Regions from separate parts of the Homo sapiens genome. Here all the other regions are linked to region 2. The links are contacts of gene promoters, found by promoter capture Hi-C in blood cells and fetal thymus (Javierre and others, 2016). All regions are on one chromosome and are shown on one strand. The core of a region is centred on a gene start or on the middle of the fragment in contact, and the rest is flanking DNA. Distances in the headings are between cores, read along the strand shown. Region 1 overlaps TBC1D25 (TBC1 domain family member 25). Region 2 holds the start of TIMM17B (translocase of inner mitochondrial membrane 17B). Region 3 holds the start of RBM3 (RNA binding motif protein 3). Region 4 holds the start of EBP (EBP cholestenol delta-isomerase).

Region 1 (6,931 bases), core at 4,353-6,852, 350 kb before region 2:
GGCCGGGACCGGCTAGGACAGGAAGTTTACCTCTCACTTCTATCTGACTGGGACCTCAGCACAGCCTTTGCCACTGCCTCCAAACCTTACCTGCAATTGCGTGTAGATATTCGGCCCTCGGAGGACAGTGAGTACTCAGTGCCCCCAGGAGCACTGCTCTGGAACCCCTTTACCCCATAGGGTGATGCTACCCCTCACAGTACACTCCCTCATGGTGGGATGGGTAGCAAGGTATCCTAGCTATAGATCCTGGCTCAGCCACTAGGCCACAATTTCTTCACTTGTAAAGAGATAATTGTATCTTAGAACCATTGTGAGGCCTTGTATCTTAGAACCATTGTGAGGGGAAATTCATATAAAATGCCTGGAACAGTGCATGACTGCATAATGAAGGCTCAGAAAGTGTTATCTCTAATAATGATAATTATATTGTATTATACTATTATAACATATAACCGAGTAATGTATGTAATAATTAGATATAATGCAGATTTATAATATAGTATAACGGTATAGCTTTAGCATTATGTATTTCAGTTATAATACCTAAATATAACAATGCGTATTATAATAATGCTAGTTGTGTTTATTCATTCAGTCATTCTGCACCCATATTCATTTGTTTGTATTCTTGCTCACTCATTCATTTGTTCCCTTGACCTCTCAGCCACTTTTTCTCTTCTCATCTTTGTTCTTCCACTCTTGCCTATTCTGGTCCCTGCGAGCACACAGATAAATTAGGACGTGGTCTCAAAATTTGATTACAGACCATACATTAGATAATTGTATCAGTATTAAATTTCCTGGGTGTGTGTCTTAGTCGTTTTGTGCTACTATAACAGAATACCACAGACTGAGGAATTTGTAAAGAAGAGAAATTTATTTCTCACAGTTTTGGAGACTGGGAAGTCCAAGATCAAGGTGCTGGCAGGTTGTGTGTCTAGTGAGGGCTTTCTTGCTGCATCCTCACATGACAGAAGAGCAGAAGAGAGTGAACCCACACCCTCAACCTCTTTATAAGAGCCCAAATCCGCTGGGCACGGTGGCTCATGCCTGTAGTCCCAGCACTTTGGGAGGCTGAGGCAGGCGGATCACCTGAAGTCAGGAGTTCGAGACCATCCTGGCCAACATGGTGAAACCCTGTCTCTACTAAAAAAAATACAAAAATTAGCCGGGTGTAGTGGCACATGCCTATAATCCCAGCTACTCGGGAGGCTGAGGCATGAGAATCGCTTGAACCCGAAAAGCAGAGGTTGCAGTGAGCCAAGATCTTGCCACTGCACTCCAGCCTGGGTGACAGAGCGAGACTTCATCTCAAAAAAAAAAAAAAAAAGAGGCTGAGCACGGTGGCTCACGCCTGTAATCCCAGCAGTTTAGGAGGCCGAGGCGGGCAGATCACAAGGTCAGGAGATCGAGACCACCCTGGCTAACACGGTGAAACCCTGTCTTTACTAAAAATACAAAAAAATAGCCGGGCGTGGTGGCGGGTGCCTGTAGTCCCAGCTACTCGGGAGGCTGAGGCAGGAGAATGGCATGAACCCGGGAGGCGGAGCTTGCAGTGAGCCAAGATCGCACCACTGCACTCCAGCCTGGGCAACAGAGCAAGACTCCATCTCAAAAAATAAATAAAATAAAAAATAAAAAAAGAGCCCTAATCCCATCTGTGAGAGCTCTACCCTCAGGACTTAATCACCTCTTAAAGGCCCCCACCTCTTAATATGATCACATTGGTAATTAAATTGCAACACATGAATTTGGAAGGACACATTCAAACCATAGCAGTGTGGTAGTGGTATCATATCTATTGAAGGAAAATATCCTTGTTCTTGGGAAAGACACAGTTAAGTATGAAGGGGTAAAATGTCATGATGTCTGCAAATAAGTTGGCAAAAATAATGTGTTTATATACAGAGAGAGTGAGATAAAGCAAATGTGGCCCAAAAAAATGTTAATAGAGGATCTAGATGAAGTATGTATGGGTGTTCAGTGTATTCTTTTAACTTTATTGTAGGTTCAAAATTGTTTTAAATAGTTGTGGAGTGGAAGATGTGGTTCCCAGCCTCAGGAAACTCATGTGCCCATTTGGGATGAGTCGAGCACTTTATTGATGTCATAATAACATATAACTAGCTAATGTGTAGTGAACACTTAGGGCCATTCTGTGCACATAATATTTTTTCACTGAATTGTCAAAATAATCCTATAGAGTAGGGACAATCATTTTCCCCATATTATAGATGAGGAAACTGAGGCTCAGAGAGGTGACAGGACTCGTCCCAGTTATACAGACAGTAAGTTGAAGAGCAAGATTTGAACTCAGGCAGTGGCTGAACTGGCTCCAGAGTCCTTGTTCTTAACCATTTAACTCTACAACATTTTGGACTTGTTAAAATTGGCAGCTTTGCAAAAGAGAGACAGAGGAGAGAGAGAAACAAGAGTCAGAGGGAAAGATAGTGACAGAGATGGGCAGGAAGCCAAATAGGAAAAGCCAGGTAGCCAGACACACAGGAACCTCTGCCACTGAGTAGCCATATGTGCTTATGTCAGTCACTTAATTCCCTGGGCCTTGTTTTCCTCACCTGTTAAAGAGACACAGTAGCACTATTTCAGGAAAAAAATCAAATCTGCATGGCTACGAAACATGTGGAGAAAACCCCAAGTGCATGAGAACTGGGACGAATGCCAGTAAAGCAGAGAGACAGACAGAAAGACACCCAGTAGTCTGGCAGGAATACATCTTTAAAAGGTTATCTTTTTAGGCCAGGCGCCGTGGCTCACGCCTGTAATCCCAGCACTTTGGGAGGCCGAGGCGGGTGGATCACCTGAGGTCAGGAGTTCGAGACCAGCCTGGCCAAACATGGCGAAACCCTGTCTCTACTAAAAATACAGAAATTAGCCGGGCGTGGTGGTAGGCGCCTGTAATCCCAGCTACTCGGGAGACTGAGGCAGGAGAATTGCTTGAGCCTGGGAGGCGGAGGTTGCAATGATCCGAGCTCGTGCCACCGCACTCCAGCCTGAGTGACAGAACTAGACTCCATCTCAAAAAAAAAAAAAAAAAAGCCCTCTGTCTTATTTACCAAATTCCTGCACAACATCGGTCTGTTTCTGAATTCCTGATTCTCTTACGTTGATCTATTTATTAAATTATAAGCCAATTCTATGTTGTTTTAATCATTGTAGTAGTTTGTTTTCTGTTTGTTTGTTTGGTTTTGAGGGTTTTTTTTTTGTTTTTTTTTTGAGACAGGGTCTCACTCTGTCATCCTTGCTGGAGTGCAGTGGCCCAATCTCAGCTCACTGCAGCCTCCACCTCCCAGGCTCAAGCAATTGTCCCACGTCAGCCTCCTGAGTAGCTGGGCCTATAGGCACATGCCCCCATGCCCAGCTAATTTTTGTATTTTTTGTAGAGACAGGGTTTCGCCGTGTTGCCCAGGCTGGTCTTGAACTCCTGGACTCAAGCAGTCTGCCCGCCTCAGCCTCCCAAAGTGCTGGGATTACAAGCAAGAGCCACCGCACCCAGCCTTAATCATTATAGTTTTATGATATGTTTTCATGTTTTCCTTTTTAAAAAATTTTCTTGAATATTCTTGTTCACTTACTGTTCTTTTTATTTAATAAATCAGCTTATTATTCCATTAAAATCCTGACGGGAATTTGATTGGAGTCATATTTTTAAGAGAAACTAATCTTTCATTACCCAGTAAATACATTCTTATTAAAAATAAAAGCATTTTAAATAATGCTGAAGTCTCCTGGGAACGCTATGCCTAATCTCAATCCCCTACCCTACCCTTTTTGCCCCGAGGGAATCGGTTTGATGTGTAACTTTGCATGTCCTTTACTTATTTACACTCCCTACACACACATTTATCCACATATGTGAGTATATTCATATTTGCGTGTCTGTACACATAAACGGTATGTGTTTAACATAAGGTATTCTACACATTAATATGTAAGTGTCCAATATATGGAGCTATCATTAGACATATTAATGGCATTCTCATGATCATTTTCATGGCTGTGAAAGCAACAGACATGTTGGGACTGTTTGGATGGCCCAGTCCCTCTTTCTGGGAAAAAGCCAGTTTCTGTCACCTCTACAGTTGGGAGATTACAAAGCCTAGACCTTTGACCAATTTGTACTTTTCCGATATGAATCTTTTTTCTTTTTGAGACTCTCTTTGTCACCAAGGCTGGAATGCAGTGACGCAAATATGGCCCACTGCAGCCTTGACCTCAAGCTCTCCTCCTGCCTCAGGCTTTCAAGTAGCTGGGACTACAGGTGTGCACCACCATGCCCAGCTAATTTTTGTATTTTTTGTAGAGACATGGTTTTGCCATGTTGGCCAGGCTGGTCTCGAACTTCTGACCTCAAGTGATCCACCCACCTCGGCCTCTCAAAGTGTTTGGATTACAGGCGGGAGCCACCGTGCCCAGCCCCCAACCTCCTTTCTATCATAGGTACTGCAAATATTTTTCCCAGTTGATCTTTTGTTTTTTGGCTTTGCTTACGGGATGGATCTGTTTTGTCCTATCAAAATTAAACATTTGATTGCACGCCTACACAGATATCTATCTTTTTCTTTATGATTTCTGAGTTTCTCCTTTTTATTGCAGGTGGAGGGACAGAGTTTCACTCTCATTGCCCAGGCTGGAGTGCGATGGCGCGATCTCGGCTCACTGCAACCTCCGCCTCCTGGGTTCAAGTGATTCTCCTGCCTCAGCCTCCCAAGTAGCTGGGATTACAGGCATGTGCCACTACACCTGGCTACTTTTGTATTTTTAGTAGAGATGGAGTTTCACCATGTTGGTCAGGCTGGTATCGAATTCCTGATCTCAAGTGATCCACCTGCCTGGGCCTCCCAAAGTGGTGGGATTACAGGCATGAGCCACTGTGCCTGGCTGAGTTTCTCCTATTACTTTGGAACATGTTCCCCATCCATAAGCTTATACAAATATTCTATATTTTCTTCTACTATGCTTATTGTTTTCTTTTTTACATATAAATCTTTTCTCTGTCAGCATTGTGATAAGCAGACCTAGCTTTAAAAAAATCAAGATAGTCAATTATGCCAGCATCATTTTTTTTAATTTAATTTTTTTTTTTGAGACGAAGTTTTACTCTTATCGCCCAGGCAGGAGTGCAGTTGCACAATCTCAGCTCACTGCAGCCGCCGTCTCCTGGGTTCAAGCAATTCTCCTGACTCAGCCTCCCAAATAGCTGGGATTACAGGTGCCCGCCACCATGCCTAGCTAATTTTTGTATTTTTAGTAGAGATGAGGTTTTGCCATGTTGGCCAGGTTGGTGTCGAACTTATGACCTCAGGTGATCCACCCACTTCAGCCTCCCAAAGTGCTGAGATTACAGGCATGAGCCACTGCGCCCGGCCTGCCAGCATCATTTATTAAATAATCACCTTTTCTGCAGTGATTCGAAATGCCACGTTTGTCACATATTCAGTTTCCATATATACAAGCTTGGATTTATTTCTGGGCTTTCTATTGCATTCTACCAATGGGCTCTATTTGTCTACTGCTGTGCTAACACCATGTTATTTTTATGACAGTGGTTTTGTGGTCAAATTTTTTTTTTTTTTTGAGATGGAGTCTCGCTCTGTCGCCCAGGCTGGAGTGCAGTGGCGCAATCTCAACTCACTGCAAGCTCCGCCTCCCGGGTTCACGCCATTCTCCTGCCTCAGCCTCCCTAGTAGCTGGGACTACAGGCGATAAGCTTTTGCCATCCTCCCACTGTTCTTTGTCTTAACTTTTTTTTTTTTTTTGGAGATGGAGTCTTGCTCTGTCGCCCAGGCTGGAGTGCAGTGGCACAATCTTGGCTCACTGCAAGCTCCACCTCCTGGGTTCACGCCATTCTCCTGCCTCAGTCTCCCAAGTAGCTGGGACCACAGGCGCTCGCCACCACGCCCGGCTAATGTTTTGTATTTTTAGTAGAGGCAGGGTTTCACCGTGTTAGCTAGGATGATCTCGATCTCCTGACCTCGTGATCCACCCACCTCGGCCTCCCAAAGTGCTGAGATTACAGGCATGAGCCACCGCGCCCAGCCTGTCTTAGCTATTCTTAAATGTGAATTCTTCTATAGAAACCTTAAGATAATTTTATCCGGTTCCAGGAAAAACCCCCATTCAATTTCTGACTGGCATTGCACTGAGTTTATATATTAATTTAGGGTTTGGGAAGTTTGACAATTTTATGATAAGGAAATGCGCGTATCATGAATATTATGTAATACCACAAGCAGGGTCTGGGCCAGCAGCCAAGCAGCCCACAATGAAACACTTGGATGTTTCTTCAGGGAAATGTGTGCATATTCACACTACGTGGGTTATATAAAGACTATATATAGTCTCCTGTCAGTTCAGATCAGGTTTTGCTACTAGGTGAGTTTGTGTTTGTAGACATTCTTTGCCTGTTTTTTGTTTGTTTGTTTGTTTGTTTTTTTGAGACACTCTGTTGCCAGGCTGGAGTGCAGTGGCACAATTCCGGCTCACTGCAACCTCTGCCTCCCAGGTTCAAGCGATTCTCCTGCCTCAGCCTCTTGAGTAGCTGAGATTACAGGCACGCGCCACCACGCCCAGCTAATTTTTGTATTTTTAGTAGAGACGGGGTTTCACCATGTTGGCCAGGACGGTCTCGATCTCTTGACCTTGTGATCCGCCCGCCTTGCTTCTCAAAGTGCTGGGATTACAGGTGTGAGCCACTGCGCCCGGCCTTTTTTTTCCTTTTTTTGAGAGGGAGTCTCACATTGTTGCCCAGGCTGGAGTGCAGTGGCGCGATCTCAGCTCACTGTAACCCCTGCCTCCCAGGTTCAAGCGATTCTCCTTACCTCAGCCTCCCAAGCAGCTGGGATTACAGGCACCTGCCACCACACCTGGCTAATTTTTTTTTGTATTTTTTAGTAGAGATGGGGTTTCA
Region 2 (6,018 bases), core at 252-2,751:
CTGGCCAACATAGTGAAACCCCATTTCTACTAAAATTACAAAAATTCGTCAGGTCTGGTGGCACATGCCTGTAGTCCCAGCTACTTGGGAGGCTGAGACAGGAGAATTGCCTGAACCCAGGAGGCAGAGGTTGCAGTGAGCCAAGAGCGTGCCACTGCACTCTAGCCTGGGCAACAGAGCAAGACTGTCTCAAAAAAAAAAAAAACTGTCTGGCTTTGCACATACATTTAAAATTTGGTGATGACTCTTTGAACGACACAGCATTTCCACAGAGGAGCTCCAGTTGGGTGGGGTGGAGGGTGGAAGACAGAGGCCATGTTTGCAATCCCTACAAAATCCCAGATACAGGAGCCAGGCTCGGCACATAGTAGGTGAGTGGGCACCAGAATGAATAAGTGCACGTGACTGGCAGCTCCAAGCAGTTTTCAGAGCAGCCTCCCTTGTGGGCAAGATAGCTAACCCCACACCAACCCAGGGAAGGCCTGGACTCACAACAGGGGCATTGCGGAAACCCTTGATGGCCTGGAAGACTCCGCCACCGATGACACCCATAGTGAAGGCTCCACCGCAATCATCCACAATTCGCCATGGGCTGCAAGCAGGAAGGGAAGGACGGGGTTAATGTGAGCCCTCCCCCAGGTCCTGTCACACGAACTCTTTTCTAACTGGGAGAAACCAAGTCACCAGAATGGGAAGTTCCTAAGTAGGAACAAACACTTCAGATAATAATGAGCTAGTTCTGTCACGCTTTTTCCACACACCCCCCCATTAAAGCGAGAAATGGGGCAAAGGGGGAGAAATATTAGTCTTCGCCCTGTCTACCAACCAAGGAATCAGCCAACGGTTTTACTGTGATCAAAGATTAAATGAATTGGCACACGCAGAGTTGACGTTTCAATAAGCGACATAGGCGTGTTAACTAGCCAAGACAGACTGTCAGCAAAGCAGGACCGCGTCGCACCCCTTCTCCGACGGTGAGCCCGTCCAACCATGCCCCGCCCCTTTTCAATCCGGCACAACTGGGAAAAACCAAGAGCGACCGCGGGAAGCATCCACCGTCCCCGCCGGCCCTCAACAGGTTCATCCGTGCCCCGCCCCCCACTGACAAAGGCGACCTGGGAAAAACCACTGGCGGCAACTCTGGGGATTTCCGGTCAACACCGTACCACCCCTAGCCGGGATGGATCGTCCAGCGTGTCTTTTTTCGTTAACAGGGCTAGGAGATTACGAAGTCAGGAGAAACATGGCGTGGTTCGGCCTTCGCCGCACCTTCTCTGGTTGTGGCCCCTCATAACGGAGCCCGAATGACAGGAACCGAGTGGGGGTAGCGGGAGATACGTTAAGAGTCCCCCGAGTCTGGTACATGGCTCTGTGCGGCCGATGCCTCCCCCGCCCGACCCCCACGGCTGGCCTTGGCGTCGCAGCAATATTCCGGATGCCTGTGCCCATTGCCGTACCAGGGCTCCCGAGCGTACTCCTCCATGGCGCTGGCGTCTGGCCGCGCAGTCAGGCCACGCCCCCAGCGTAGACGCACACCGGCGTCGGAGCTTTCCGCCTATTACCGGGCAGCGATTGGGTCGCTATACCGCATGTCACGCCAAGGACGCACTCTCATTGGCCAATCGAGTTTCTGCCATTTGTTCATTGCCTCCTGAGCGTAGTCCAGTTACTTTCAGGCTCGGGGAGTGAAGGCCTCGTTGAGAGAAGGTCTCATTCGGTGTTTTGGGAAGAGAGTCGTGTGGGCCCAGGTATCGTAGCGGCGACACGAGAGAGACGGGCGGTGTGACAGCCTTCCACTACCTGCACGAGTGTATTGGTAACGTTGGGGTGGGTGCACTCTTTTGGAGCTGGAGGAAGTGCTGCCCTCTGCTCCCCCATCCCAGCGCTTTGGTTTCTCCCACCCGGCAGTCATGGGGACGCTGGATGAGCCCATTTCTGAAGTGCGGAGGGGCCGGGCTTCTTAGGCTGTGGGCGGAGCCTGGGCCTGGGAGAGGAACAGGGCCCTGGAGCACCTGGTTTCGGGGACAGTAGGGTTGGTGGGAGTTGCGATGATATTGCCACCTACCTCTTACATCTTTTAGTGCGTATGTTCTGTCCACCCAGCTACTGGTTCATTTGAGTAGATCGGAGTCAGATGAGTACATGTTTACGGGAGGCGCTTGGTTACGGGATCCAGATAGGAATCTTTATCTGAGCTGCTTGTCAGTTTGTTCGTCTGTCCCTAGGTCTGTCTGCTATCAGCTATGCCGCTGCCCGTTGCGCTGCAGACCCGCTTGGCCAAGAGAGGCATCCTCAAACATCTGGAGCCTGGTGAGACAGCTAAAAGCAGATGGTCCTAACACGTGCCAGCCTCGACAGGCACTTTTGTTGTTGATACTGACGCTTGATACCTAGCATGGGCCAACTGTGCACCAAGCAATGGGGTGGCAGGCATTTTTCGTTGTTAACAATGTGGATTCCTGACATCCATCCCTACCGCGTGTCAAGTGGAGGGGGTTGGGGGAATAGATATTTCATTCTTTTTTTTTTTTTTTTTTTTTTTTTTTTTTTTTTTTTTTGAGGCAGAGTCTTATTGTGCACCCAGGCTGGAGTGCAGTGGCGCGATCTCGGCTCACTAAAACCTCCGCCTTCCAGGTTCAAGCGATTCTCCTGCCTTAACTTCCCGAGTAGTTGGGACTACAGGCACGCCCCGCCCCACCACACCTGGCAATTTTTTTTTTTTTTTTTTTGAGACAGAGTCTCGGTCTGTCGCCCAGGCTGGAGTGCTGTGGCGTGATCTCGTCTCACTGCAACCTCCGCCTCCCGGGCTCAAGCGATTTTCCTGTCTCAGCCTCCCAAGTAGCTGGGATTACAGGCACGTGATACCACACCCGGCTGATTTTTGCATTTTTAGTAGAGACGGGTTTCACCATGTTGGCTAGGCTGGCCTCTAACTCCTGACCTCAGGTGATCCACCCCCCACCCTTGGCTTTCCAAAGGGTTGGGATTACAGGCATAAGCCACTGTGCCCGGCAGATATTTCATTCTTAACAATACTGACTGGCTGGGCGTGGCGGCTCAAGCTGGCATTCCCAGCACTTTAGGAGGCTGAGGCGGGTAGATTGCTTGAGTTTAGGGATTAAGAGATTAGCCTGAGCAACATGGCAAAACCCCGTCTTTACAAAAAATACAAAAATTAATCGTGTGTTGTGGTGCATGCCTGTAGTCCCAGCTACTTGGGAGGCTGAGGTGAGAGGATCTCTTGAGCCTAGGATGTCAAGGGTGCAGTGAGCCGAGATTGTGCCACTGCACTCCAGCCTGGCCGACACATGGAGACCCTGTCTGAAAAAAATCCAAAAAAAACAACAAAATAATACTGACCACCTAATGCCTATTTGGGGCCTACTGTATGCCAAGTTAAATCCCATGGATTACTCTATGGGGGTGATGACATAGTATCTAATAGGAAGTACTGCTAACCTCTACTGCTGTCTCCTGTGTGCCAAGCGTAGTTGCAGTGAGGATCTATCATTTAGGCCTACTGTGCTCTGGCTGCAAATCACACCTTATTATCAGTAATACTAAAAACTGGCATCTATTTGGGGCTATAGTGTGCCAGGCACTGGAAAATATATCTTCTCCTTATTGATAACTGACATCTATTACAAGCCTACTGTGTGCAAGGTATAGACCTTGTGGTTAATAAAATTGTCAATGATCCCAGGCCGGGCAGGGTGCCTCATGCCTGTAATCTCAGCGCTTTGGGAGGCGGAGGTGGACGGATCACGAGGTCAGGAGATCGAGACCATTCTGGCTAACAGGGTGAAACCCCATCTCTAATAAAAATACAAAAAACTTAGCCGGGCGTGGTGCCAGATGCCTGTAGTCCCAGCTACTCGGGAGGCTGAGGCAGGAGAATGGTGTGAACCCGGAAGGCGGAGCTTGCAGTGAGCCGAGATCATGCCACTGCACTCCAGCCTGGGCAACAGAGAAAGACTCCATCTCAAAAAAATAAAACTGGCAATGATCATTGATTTACTTTTTTTTTTTTTTTTTTTTTTTTTTTTTGAGAGAGTCTCGCTCTGTCACCTAGGCTGGAGTGCAGTGGTGCAGTCTTGGCCCACTGCAACCTCTGCCTCCCGGGTTCAAGCGATTCTCCTGCCTCAGCCTCCCGAGTAGCTAGGACCACAGGCGTGCTCCACTGTGCCTGGCTAATTTTTGTATTTTTTAGTAGAGATGGGGTTTCACCATGTTGGCCAGGCTGGATTTTCTTTTAAGCCTATTGAATGACCTGTGCCTATGGTATATATATTATTTATTATTTGTTTAGAGACAGGGTCTCACTCTGTTGCCCAGGCTGGAGTGCAGTGGCACGATAATAGCTCACTGCAAGCTCAAAGTCCTGGGCTCAAATGAGCCTCCTGCCTCAGCCTCCTGAGTAGTTGGGACTACAGACGTGTGCCACTGTGCCCAGCTAATTTTTTTTTTTTGTAGAGACAGGGGTCTCACTATGTTGACCAGGCTAGTCTCACAGACGGGTTTTCACCATCTTGGCCAGGCTGGTCTTGAACTCCTGACCTCGTGATCCACCCACTTTGGCCTCCTAAAGTGCTGGGATTACAGGCATGAGCCATCACGCCTGGCCAAGATGAGTAAATTTTTTGATGAATCCCTATCAACTCTGAAACCAGATAGCTTTGGCTAACAGTAGAACTCATCATCTGAACCCAGACACAGATTTAGGTAACCTTTTTTTGTAAACCTCCTAATATAGAGAGTTGGATTTGGAATGTGAAAGATACTTCATATTCTTCCCGGCACACACACACACGTGTCTTTTATGTGTGGCTTGTGTGAATGTGAGTGCGTGTCTCTAGGCTCTACATGTAGGATGAGGTCCCCTGGTCCTTATCTGCTCTCCTCATCCCCACCTTGTTCTACCAGAACCAGAGGAAGAGATCATTGCCGAGGACTATGACGATGATCCTGTGGACTACGAGGCCACCAGGTTGGAGGGCCTACCACCAAGCTGGTACAAGGTGTTCGACCCTTCCTGGTGAGCCTGGGTGAGGGGGAGCTAACTTCTGGCTTCACCCTTCCTGTGCTGACCTTGGTTGTGAGGTTTAGGGGGACACAAGGGAGGGAGCCTCGGGTGGAGGGTGTTGGCATTAGGTATCTGCAGGACTCAAGTTGCTGCCTGCTGGGGCCTGGCTCCTCTGGGGTTGGAAGACTGTCTTTTCTCTCTTTTTTGAAACGGAGTTTCACTCTTGTAGCCCGGGCTGGAGTGCAATGGTGTGATCTCGGCTTATGGCAACCTCCGCCTCGTGGGTTCAAGCGATTCTCCTGTCTCAGCCTCCCAGGTAGCTGGGATTACAGGTGCACACCACCACACCCAGCTAATTTTTGTATTTTTTGTAGAGATGGGGTTTCATCATATTGGTCAGGCTGGTCCCGAACTCCTGACCTCAGGTGATCCGCCTGCCTCGGCCTCCCAAAGTGCTGGGATTACAGGCATGAGCCACCACGCCCAGCTGACAGTGTTTTCTCTTCAGGAGAAGAGATTCTGGGGATCCTGCCTGTGGGGTCCTGACATGGGGCAGGTATAGGCAGAGACTGGGGAGACAAGAGTTGAGGATCCAAGGCAAGGACATCTGTGCTGACACTTCTTTCCTGCGGCCCCACAGCGGGCTCCCTTACTACTGGAATGCAGACACAGACCTTGTATCCTGGCTCTCCCCACATGACCCCAACTCCGTGGTTACCAAATCGGCCAAGAAGCTCAGAAGCAGTAATGCAGGTGAGTTGGCAGGTACAAGCGTGCCTTGAGTGATCTTAGCAGTTCTCACGGAGAGGCCAAGTAGAATGATAGTGGATCAGAGGGGCAGGTGAGACCAGGCGGGCCCAGCCTCAGGCAAGGGAGGTTGTTGAAGGCAGAGGCTGCTGGGTCCTGGGGTGGCAAGAGGTCACTTCAAGACTTGTGTCCCCAGATGCTGAAGAAAAGTTGGACCGGAGCCATGACAAGTCGGACAGGGGCCATGA
Region 3 (6,683 bases), core at 2,622-5,121, 320 kb before region 2:
GAGGTTGCAGTGAGCCGAGATTGCACCATTTTACTCCAGCCTGGGCAACAAGAGCGAAACTCCATCTCAAAAAAAAAGACGTTATTTCTCCCAAAATGTAAAAATTCAATGCACTCTCAATAACACTTCCATTACTTTTTTTTTTAATGTTTTGAAACAGGGTCTCACTTTGTTGCCCAGGCTGGAGTGCAGTGGCACGATCATAGCTCACTGCAGACTCCAACTCCTGGGTTCAAGCGATCCTCCTGCCTCAGCCTCCCAGGTAGCTGGGATTTGGGCGAGAGCCACCATGCCTGACCTCATTACTTCTTTTTGTTAGAACTGCAATACACTTACATTAGAATTTAGAATAGTAATGAATCATGGACAGTTAAGACAGCCTTCAAAGAAAGCGTTATGATGGGGATTTGCCCACTAGATATTAAGACATATTAAAGGTGTTAGTAATAAAAGGGAAAAAAAAAACAACAACAAACCTATATTGGCCCAAGAGCTAAGAAGTAGACCAATTAGAAGAGAAGGCCGGGCACGGTGGCTCACACCTGTAATACCAGCACTTTTGGAGGCCGAGGTGGGCAGATCACAAGGTCAGGAGATCCAGACCACGGTGAAACCCCGCCTCTACTAAAAAATACAAAAAAAAAAAATTGGCTGGGTGCGGTAGCAGGCGCCTGTAGTCCCAGCTACTCGGGAGGCTGAGGCGTGAACCTGGAAGGCAGAGCTTACAGTGAGCCGAGATCGCGCCACTGCACTCCAGCCTGAGCGACAGAGCGAGACTCCGTCTCAAAAAAAAAGACCATCCTGGCCAACATGGTGAAACCCCATCTCTACTAAAAATACAAAAATTAGCTGGGCGTGGTTGCACGCGCCTGTAGTCCCAGCTACTCAGGAGGCTGAGGCAGGAAAATCACTTGAACCCAGGAGGCGGAGGTTGCAGTGAGCCAAGATCGCGCCACTGCACTCCAGCCTGGCGACAGAGTGAGACTCTGTCAAAAAAAAAAAAAAAGCTCAGAAGTCAGGTACAATAGTGCTCCCCTGTAATCCCAGTTACTCAGGAGGCTGAGTTGGGGAGAATGCTTGAGGCCAGGAGTCAGCCTGGGCTCATCTCTTAAAAACAACAATAACAACAAAACCAGCAACAAACCACCTCAGAGACAGACCCATATATCTATGGAACTTGATACATGATAGAGGTGGTAAAACACACACAGGGATGGGACAGATTGCTTAATAGATGGTGATGGGGCATCTGGCTCATGACACAGAGAAAAATAAAATTGGAGCTCTATCTCACACCATATACAAGGACGAACTCTACATGGATTAAAGACCTAAATGTGGCCGGGTGCGGTGGCTCATGCCTGTAATCCCAGCACTTTGGGAGGCCGAGGCAGGCGAATCACTTGAGGCCAGGAGTTCAAGACCAGCCTGGCCAACATGGCAAAAACCTGTCTCTACTAAAAATGCAAAAATTAGCCAGGTGTGGTGGCACACACCTGTAATCCTAGCTACGCAGCAGGCTGAGGCAGGAGAATTGCTTGAACCCAGGAGGCGGAGGTTGCAGTGAGCCGAGATAGTGCCATTGCACTCCAGCCTGGGCAACAAGAGCGAAACTCTGTCAAAAAAAAAAAAAAAGAAAGAAAGAAAGAAACTGTAGGGGAACATTTTGTGACCTGGGAAAGAGAATGATTTCTTTAAAAGCACAGACCAGGCCGGGCGTGGTGGCTCACGCCTGTAATCCCAGCACTTTGGGAGGCCGAGGCAGGCGGATCATGAAGTCAGGAGTTTGAGAACAGCCTGAACAACATGGTGAAACCTCATCTCTACTAAAAATACAAAAATTAGCTGGGCATAGTGGCACATGCCCGTAATCCCAGCTACTCAGGAGACTAAAGCAGGAGAATCACTTGAACCTGGGAGGCGGAGGTTGCAGTGAGCTGAGATCATGCCACTGCACTCCAGCCTGAGCGACAGAGTGAGACTCCGTCTCAGAAAAAAGCACAGAACATAGGGGGAAAAATGATTATATCAAAATTATGGATCTTTATTCAACTAAGTTTACTGCTTACAAAGTTAATAACACAAATGCCAGAGCTGGAGAGGCTATTTCCAACACCTAAGGGATTAATAATTAGACTATGTGAGGAATCCCTGACAATAACAGGAAGATAAATATGGGAATTACCCCAACAGGAATATGGATGTACTGTATTCTGTATGTTAGCAAATTTGGTCTGTGTTGGGCAAATTCATTCTATGGATAAGAAATTTAGCCTCTGAGGGCAAACTAACTTATTCTTCGTTGATGTGGCGCTCAGAAGTGAAAAATCTGTCAAATCCATTTATTGTAAAGGTGGCCAAGACACTGAAGACTAAATTGTGAACAGTGGGCTCAGACACTACTTGATTGGGATAAGTCTATTGTGTATTGCGAAAGTCCCTTCTGTGAATCAAGGGCTCAGTTACTTTTTTTTTTTTTTTGAGACTGAGTCTTGCTCTGTCGCCCAAGCTGGAGTGCAGTGGCATGATCTCAGCTCACTGCAACCTCCACCTCCCGGGTTCAAGCGATTATCCCGCCTCAGCCTCCTGAGTAGCTGGGACTACAGGTGCCTACCACCACGCCCGGCTAATTTTTTTTTTTTTTTGTATTGTTAGTAGAGACAGGGTTTCACCATATTGGCCAGGGTAGTCTTGAACTCCTGACCTTGTGATCTGCCCACTTCGGCCTCCCAAAGTGCTGGGATTACAGGCATGAGCCACTGCGCCCGGCAAGGGCTCAGTTACTTTCGAAGAGAGCAAAAATTGCTCTATGGATTGGGATTTACAACCTCTGAAGATCGTAGCATCCTCTTTTGTTTTGTTTTGTTTTCACCCAGGCTGGAGTGCAATGGCGTGGTCTCGGCTCACTGCAACCTCCGCCTCCCGGGTTCAAGCGATTTTCCAGCCTCAGCCTCCCGAGTAGGTGGGACTACAGGCACGTGCCACCACACCCAGCTAATTTTTTTTTTCTTTTTTTTTTTTTTTTTTTTTTTTTGTATTTTTAGTAGAGATGGGGTTTCACCATGTTGGCCATGCAGGTCTCGAACTCCTGAACTCGTGAACCGCCCGCTTTGGCCTCCCAAAGTGCTGGGAATACAGGCGTGAGCCACCGCGCCCGGCCAGCATCCTGTTTTGTAAAAGCCATCTCAGGCAGTCTATTGGTGAGAAAATTAAGGGGCTGGCTTCACGCCAGCAGTCAGACAAGGGTGAGGGCTGAAGTCAGAGATGAGATGGAATGACGCCAGGGAAAAGGGTCCCATGACAGGCGGCTAGATGTTGAGCACAGAGGAGAAAGAGTAGGAGTCAGGGTCAAACCTTAAAACGTTGGGTCTGACATCATGGACTGTGAAGGGTGATGACATCAGTGACGGTGGGGGATAAAATGTCAGGCCTTTAAAGGGTATGAGGTTAAAGAACTAGAAGGTGAAGGAGGTTAACATCAGAGAATGGCAGGGACCTAGAGGAAGACGACTACGATGGTGAGGAAGACATCCGATCCAGCGGGGGAAATGATGGCAAGGACGGGAGGATGATGTCAGGGACAGCAAGTAGTATGAGATTGAGAAGGTTCCTTTGTGGAAGGGATAAAGGCAGCTCAGCCGGTTGTGGGGGGGATGCTGACGTTTAGGGTGCACCAGCTGTTCAAAAGTCGACCCCATTTCCGGAAACACCCCATTTCCGGAAACACCCCATTTCGCGGAGAACACTGCTCCCTTCGCTTTGCTGTCCCTTCCTCTCCCCACCACTCCGCTCCTGCTGGCCTCAGCCAATCAGCACGCACGCCGGGACGCGCAAGGGGAACGTTCCGGGACGTTCTCGCTACGTACTCTTTATCAATCGTCTTCCGGCGCAGCCCCGTCCCTGTTTTTTGTGCTCCTCCGAGCTCGCTGTTCGTCCGGGTTTTTTACGTTTTAATTTCCAGGTAAGTTGCATATGTCCTGCGAAACGGCGGCTCCTCGCCACACACGCGCCGCGCCGGCCGTGACCGGGGAATAGCGAGTGGGGAGAGTAATGGCCACTGACACGTAGGCTTGGCTTTCTCTGGGACGGGCGGGTCCCGTGCTTGGAGGTGAAACATTTCGGTTGGTGGGAGGCCGGCGCGCTGTATCTGAGTGTGAGGCCTACCGGGAGGGACTGGTGGCGTCGGTGGTGGCAGTGACCACGCGACAGCCGACACTTACTTTCCTTATCCCACGTGGCCGCCGCCATCTTGTTCTGCCGGCGTTAAGGGAACGCAGGGATGTTCTGGGCTTGCGCAGTGGCACAAAATGACGGGCGTGGCGGCTATGAATGTGAGAGCATGCGCAATGTGGCCCCCTAATGGTGGCTGCGCTGAGCCAGCTCCTCAGATTACCACCTTATTGGCCGCCTTTCTCAGCTTTTCTGTAGTTACCCATATTTTGTTCCTCTTTCTTGTCTATTTTCTGTGCTTTTTCTCTGCTTTCCGTCTCGCTATTTTCTCACATCTCCATTTTCTTTCTCCTTCCTGCCACCATTCTTCATGTTCTTCCCACAGGACTTGAACTGCCATGTCCTCTGAAGAAGGAAAGCTCTTCGTGGGAGGGCTCAACTTTAACACCGACGAGCAGGCACTGGAAGACCACTTCAGCAGTTTCGGACCTATCTCTGAGGGTGAGACGGGCCATACTCACAATGGGGGTTGGTGAGAGAAAGTCTGGGATCCTTGCATTTCAAGGAGTATTAACTGAAAAGTTAGGACCCACGCCTCCAAATTCTTTTTCTTCCTAAGCCTATGGTGTAGACTAAGGATGAGGGGAAGCGTCTTTGGGATTAGTGGGAGCGCTCCGTTTTCCCTACCTATGCCATCTCCTTTTCCGGCCACCCTTTGCTACTTAACCTTTGGGGTACTGACTGGTCCACATTGCTCCATCTTCTCTCCCTCTCACAGTGGTCGTTGTCAAGGACCGGGAGACTCAGCGGTCCAGGGGTTTTGGTTTCATCACCTTCACCAACCCAGAGCATGCTTCAGTTGCCATGAGAGCCATGAACGGAGAGGTGGGGCCTCCTATCTGCAGAGGGACCTTGTCCCCATCTGCGGCTTCCTTCATTCTTTTTGTTTTTCCCTCTGTGTCTGCTCGGGGCAGCGTGGCCACCAAGCCCCGCAGTGCCCACTCACAGGAGCATGACTGCCTTTTGTTCTAGGGGGTGGAGGGCAGCGGCAGACAGAGCCTGGCCGCCTGGGAGGCGACGACTGGTCCTGCATGAGGCCGAGAAGCCACCTGTGGATGGTTGACCTGCCTTGGGCTTAGGTAGTAGAGTCTGCAGACCTGTGGGCCTGGCCCGGAGAGGACCTCGTGAGTCTTCTGACATGGACTCTGAAGCCTCAAACCAAGAGAGGTGTCTGTCTAGCCCTGATAGTCGGGCAGCTTAGAGGAGTGGGGAGGAGAACTCAGCCTGAGTTCAGTCAAGATGTAAGTAGTAGCAAGGGGAACATGGTGCATTCAGGTCATTTTGTGTGGGATTCTATAGCTCCTGATGAAGCCATTCTGGGGTAAAGGAGCTTATTCTGGAACATGGCACCCAGAACCTGGTGCCCAGCAGGAATTTTTGGCCTCTTTTGCCCACTTACCCTTGCCTGCTCTTCCCTCACCATTGCCCTGACTGACTGCCAACCCATCATCCTTGTGTCTCCCACACTTAGTCTCTGGATGGTCGTCAGATCCGTGTGGATCATGCAGGCAAGTCTGCTCGGGGAACCAGAGGAGGTGGCTTTGGGGCCCATGGGCGTGGTCGCAGCTACTCTAGAGGTGAGTGCAGTGATCGTTTTGATCATGGGGTGAGAGGGAGAGTTGCCTATGTGTGGACAACTGCCATTTAAATATTTTTCTGCTCTAGGTGGTGGGGACCAGGGCTATGGGAGTGGCAGGTATTATGACAGTCGACCTGGAGGGTATGGATATGGATATGGACGTTCCAGAGACTATAATGGCAGGTGGGTAGCCAAAGGGCTGGGATGTTCTCCTATTGCTTCCCTCTCCTTAAGAACTCAGCGCCTGGGTGTTCATGCATACCACACCTTGCTGTTACTAATGTGTACCTAAAATGAGTATGAAATTTAGCATTTTAAGTTAATTGTGTAGTCATATAGTTGCGACATGGTAAAGTATACTATATATGTTGTGCTGTGTGGGTTATATAACTATATTGCTTTAACATGTAATATGATTTAATATACTGCGTATAAATCGTATGCCATAAAACTGTTTACTGTGATACTCATATGCTTAACATATCCTGTTTTTGATACGTAAGGTTTATGTTATGACCCATACTGTAAAATGTGACGCATATAATTACAGTGGTATATATAATGCAGTACCAGAAAACTTTTGTGTGTTTTTTTTCCCCCCCAGAAACCAGGGTGGTTATGACCGCTACTCAGGAGGAAATTACAGAGACAATTATGACAACTGAAATGAGACATGCACATAATATAGGTGAGACTTGGATATCGGCATTGAGTGAACCTGTTTGTCACACTCTGTCATGACCCTCTCACCTTTTCTGGCAAGACTGCTCTGCATTTCTGCTGCCCTCATACCTCACCCAGCCAACCTACCAAACATTCCTAGCTAGGCCTTCCTTGCTCTCAGGTGCATATCAGAGCAAGTTTGCTAGGGGGT
Region 4 (2,813 bases), core at 1-2,500, 380 kb before region 2:
TACTCCTTGACCCCCTCCATCCTTGACCCCCAACACCTCAACACACACACACACACACACACACAAAATCACACCATTTTCATGCCTGTCAATCCCCACCCCACCACAAGGCAGGAAGGGGGTGGTGCCTGCTGGGGCCTAGAGGGGGATGCTTGGGGAAACAGAGAAGGGGAGATCCAGGGCCTCCCCGCCTTCCTTCTTCCTTTTTATATACAATTTGTTATTGTCAAATAAAAGTAGGAAATATTCAATAGGCTTCTTCTTCACTGCTCAGAGGGGAATAGGAATGAGTGAGGAAGGGAGCACAGCATGGATAAAGGTTTGGAAGCTGGAAACCATGAAGAGAGAGCAGACTGTGATTGGTTCATGGTTAGTTTATGATTGATTAGATGATGAGCCTGAAGATGGCAGGATCCTGGTCCTGCTTGGTTTGATCAGGGCAGGGACAGATTGCATAGTTGGATGTGGGGGAGGCCTGATTGGCTGGAAAACTGAAGGATCCCCATTCTGATTGGTTGCTCTGAGTGGGACACAGAGGAGAGAAAGCAAGAGAGATGAAGGGTTGGTGCCTATTTATCCTTAGGACTGAGGGTTGTGGGTTCTAATTGGATGGGAGGTCTGGGATGGGTCTGGATTCTGATTGATTGCTCCATCTGGGGGCCCACTGGTGGTTAGGCGTTTGATTGGCTTTTTAGAACTGGCATATGGAGATTGAGGGTCTTCATGCCAATTGGTCAGTAGGACTGAGAGGCCTGGGTTCTAACTAGTTCTTCTGACTTGAGGTCGGGAGAAGAGAGAATGACCGCTGCTATTAGGACTGAGGAGTTCTGAGCACTGAAGAGCTGGGGAGGGGGTGGTTGCAGTGTATAGCGTGTGATCTGCTTGTAACAGTTTCGTTGCATTATACTAAGGGTTACTCTACCTAGAAAAGGGCGGAGGTGAAAGGATGCAACGCAACGCTAATTTCACCAGCGGAAGAAGCGGGTACAGACCTTAATGAGTCCCCGTTTTGATCGACTGATAAGGGAATGGGGAAATTGAAGCCAGGACTCGATGCAGATTGGCTACGGATCCAAAACGCCCACTAACCTTGGCGCGTCCCAGTCTCCACCCCAAACCTAACTCAGGTGAAAATGGCGCCACGCGCGGGGGCGGGGCTAGAGGTACAAAGAGAGTGTCTATTGGTTGGGAGCGGCACGGGCCGCCTTCTTCGCTTCACCATTGGCTCGCTCCGTAAGGCAAGAGAACCCACTAGGGGATGAGCCCGAACTAGGGATGTGACAGAGCGCGAGACCCAGCCTAAAGAGAGCCCGGAGCCAGCGTGGGAGGCCGCTGCCGTCGCGCGCCTTGGTGAGTGCCCTCCACCCGGCCCCTGCTCCCTCCCCCAGCTCTCCCCGGCTACGCGGCCAGCCCTCGGCGTGCCAGCGCGAGACCCTTTGCCACCCGCCCCCCCCACCGCCCTTTTGCGCCTGCGCGAGACCCCCAGCTACCGCACGGTTGTCCAGAGGACAGAAGATCCGTCTTCTCATTGGGCAGCGGGACTGGAGGGTTCTGGTTCGGATTGACCGGCTTTGTGTTCCGTTCTAGCGCTGCACGCCAGACACCGGCCTTTCAATATCCGTCTCTTCCCTGCAGGTTGACGGCGTTGCACGCTCTCGCGGGGAGGCTCTGGCTTTCCAAACGCTGGCACCGAGGGTTGTAGTTCTGATTCGTTTTCTTTCCTCTGTCCCCCAGTTGCAGTTTTCAGGACTACGTGGGGGAGGGAATAGCTTTTTGTTGAACGGTTTAAGACGCTGACCTGTGCAACTGGACCACGCCTGGTTCCTGTGTCTCTTACCAAACCGTGACCCCGGAGCACAGGACTGGGTTTGGTGGTCGTGAGCAGTTTGTGACCCTTGAAGGAAGACACCAGGCCTGGTCCTGTATCTCCCTCGCCAGACTGTGACCAGGGAGGGCTGGGATCAGGTGTTGTTCCCATGTGCCTCCCACCAGACTTTGACCCCCGAGGGCTGAGACCGGGACTGTTTCTACCACATCATAATATGGCTTCTAAAGGGCTGGAACAAGCTTTCAGCCTTTCTGTGGCCTTGTGTTTCAGTCATGTTCTTTTTCTTTTCTTTTTTATTTTATTTTGAGACAGAGTCTCGCTCTGTTGCCCAGGCTGGAGTGCAGTGGCATGACCCCGGCTCACTGCAGCCTCTGCCTCCCAGGTTCAAGCGATTCTCCTGCCTCAGCCTCCTGAGTAGCTGTAACTACAGGCGCACGCCACCACACCTGGCTAATTTTTGTATTTTTAGTAGAGACGGGGTTTTGCCATGTTGGCCGGGCTGGTCTTGAACTCCTGAGCTCAAGTGGTCCACTCGTCTTGGCCTCCCAAAGTGCTGGGATTACAGGCGTGAGCCACCGCGCCCGGCCTTCTTTTTTAGAGGCAGAGTCTCAGACTGGAGGGCAGTGATGTGGTCACTGCTCACTTCAGCCTTGAAGTCCTGGGCTCAAAGCGATCCTCCTGCCTCAGCCTACCTACTAGCTGGGACTACAGGCCTTTGTCACCACACCTGACTGATTTTCTTATTTTTTTAGAGACAGTTTCGCTGTGTTGCCCAGGCCGGACTTGAATTCCTGGCCTCAGGTGCTGCTCCTGCATCAGCCTCCCAAAGCACTGGAATTACCTGCCACGGTGCCTGGCCTTTAGTCATGGTCTTAAAACAGAATGTAGGCCGGGCGCAGTGGCTCACGCCTGTAATCCCAGCACTTTGGGAGGCTGAGGCGGGCGGATCGTGAGGTCAGGAGATCAAGACCATCCTGGCTAACAC

The links. Contacts are between HindIII fragments. The CHiCAGO score rates a contact against its expected background, and 5 or more counts as called.
Region 1: a contact is called between a fragment that was not itself captured here and the fragment with the promoter of TIMM17B in region 2, in 1 of 17 cell types (activated CD4 T cells). The highest score is 5.8, in activated CD4 T cells.
Region 3: a contact is called between the fragment with the promoter of RBM3 here and the fragment with the promoter of TIMM17B in region 2, in 5 of 17 cell types (neutrophils, total B cells, fetal thymus and 2 more). The highest score is 9.5, in neutrophils.
Region 4: a contact is called between the fragment with the promoter of EBP here and the fragment with the promoter of TIMM17B in region 2, in 1 of 17 cell types (neutrophils). The highest score is 7.4, in neutrophils.

Annotation. Positions count from the first base shown.
Region 1 is chrX:48,544,897-48,551,827 of GRCh38, forward strand. TBC1D25 (TBC1 domain family member 25) reads left to right here. Exons shown (of 6, transcript NM_002536.4): 3 at 1-127. Among named protein-coding and RNA genes, the nearest start is that of TBC1D25, 8.6 kb to the left of the region's middle. The HindIII fragment of the contact is 254 bases long and covers 5,476-5,729 here.
Region 2 is chrX:48,896,267-48,902,284 of GRCh38, forward strand. It overlaps TIMM17B (translocase of inner mitochondrial membrane 17B), which reads right to left and starts at 1,502. Exons shown (of 6, transcript NM_001395498.1): 1 at 1,458-1,502; 2 at 493-592. The coding sequence starts at 1,483. It overlaps PQBP1 (polyglutamine binding protein 1), which reads left to right and starts at 1,664. Exons shown (of 7, transcript NM_001032382.2): 1 at 1,664-1,816; 2 at 2,226-2,310; 3 at 4,924-5,035; 4 at 5,664-5,776; 5 at 5,967-6,018. The coding sequence starts at 2,244. RefSeq lists enhancers at 1,018-1,167, 1,198-1,397, 1,688-2,057, 2,108-2,327. The HindIII fragment of the contact is 9,862 bases long and covers 1-6,018 here.
Region 3 is chrX:48,570,613-48,577,295 of GRCh38, forward strand. RBM3 (RNA binding motif protein 3) reads left to right here and starts at 3,872. Exons shown (of 7, transcript NM_006743.5): 1 at 3,872-3,961; 2 at 4,556-4,671; 3 at 4,949-5,055; 4 at 5,702-5,807; 5 at 5,896-5,992; 6 at 6,414-6,497. The coding sequence starts at 4,569. The coding sequence ends at 6,474. RefSeq lists a cis regulatory region at 3,005-3,990 and enhancers at 3,747-4,946, 3,930-4,199. The HindIII fragment of the contact is 13,325 bases long and covers 1-6,683 here.
Region 4 is chrX:48,520,558-48,523,370 of GRCh38, forward strand. It overlaps EBP (EBP cholestenol delta-isomerase), which reads left to right and starts at 1,251. Exons shown (of 5, transcript NM_006579.3): 1 at 1,251-1,350. It overlaps PORCN (porcupine O-acyltransferase), which reads left to right. Exons shown (of 15, transcript NM_203475.3): 15 at 1-251. RefSeq lists silencers at 92-151, 1,066-1,295, 1,356-1,535. The HindIII fragment of the contact is 9,622 bases long and covers 1-2,065 here.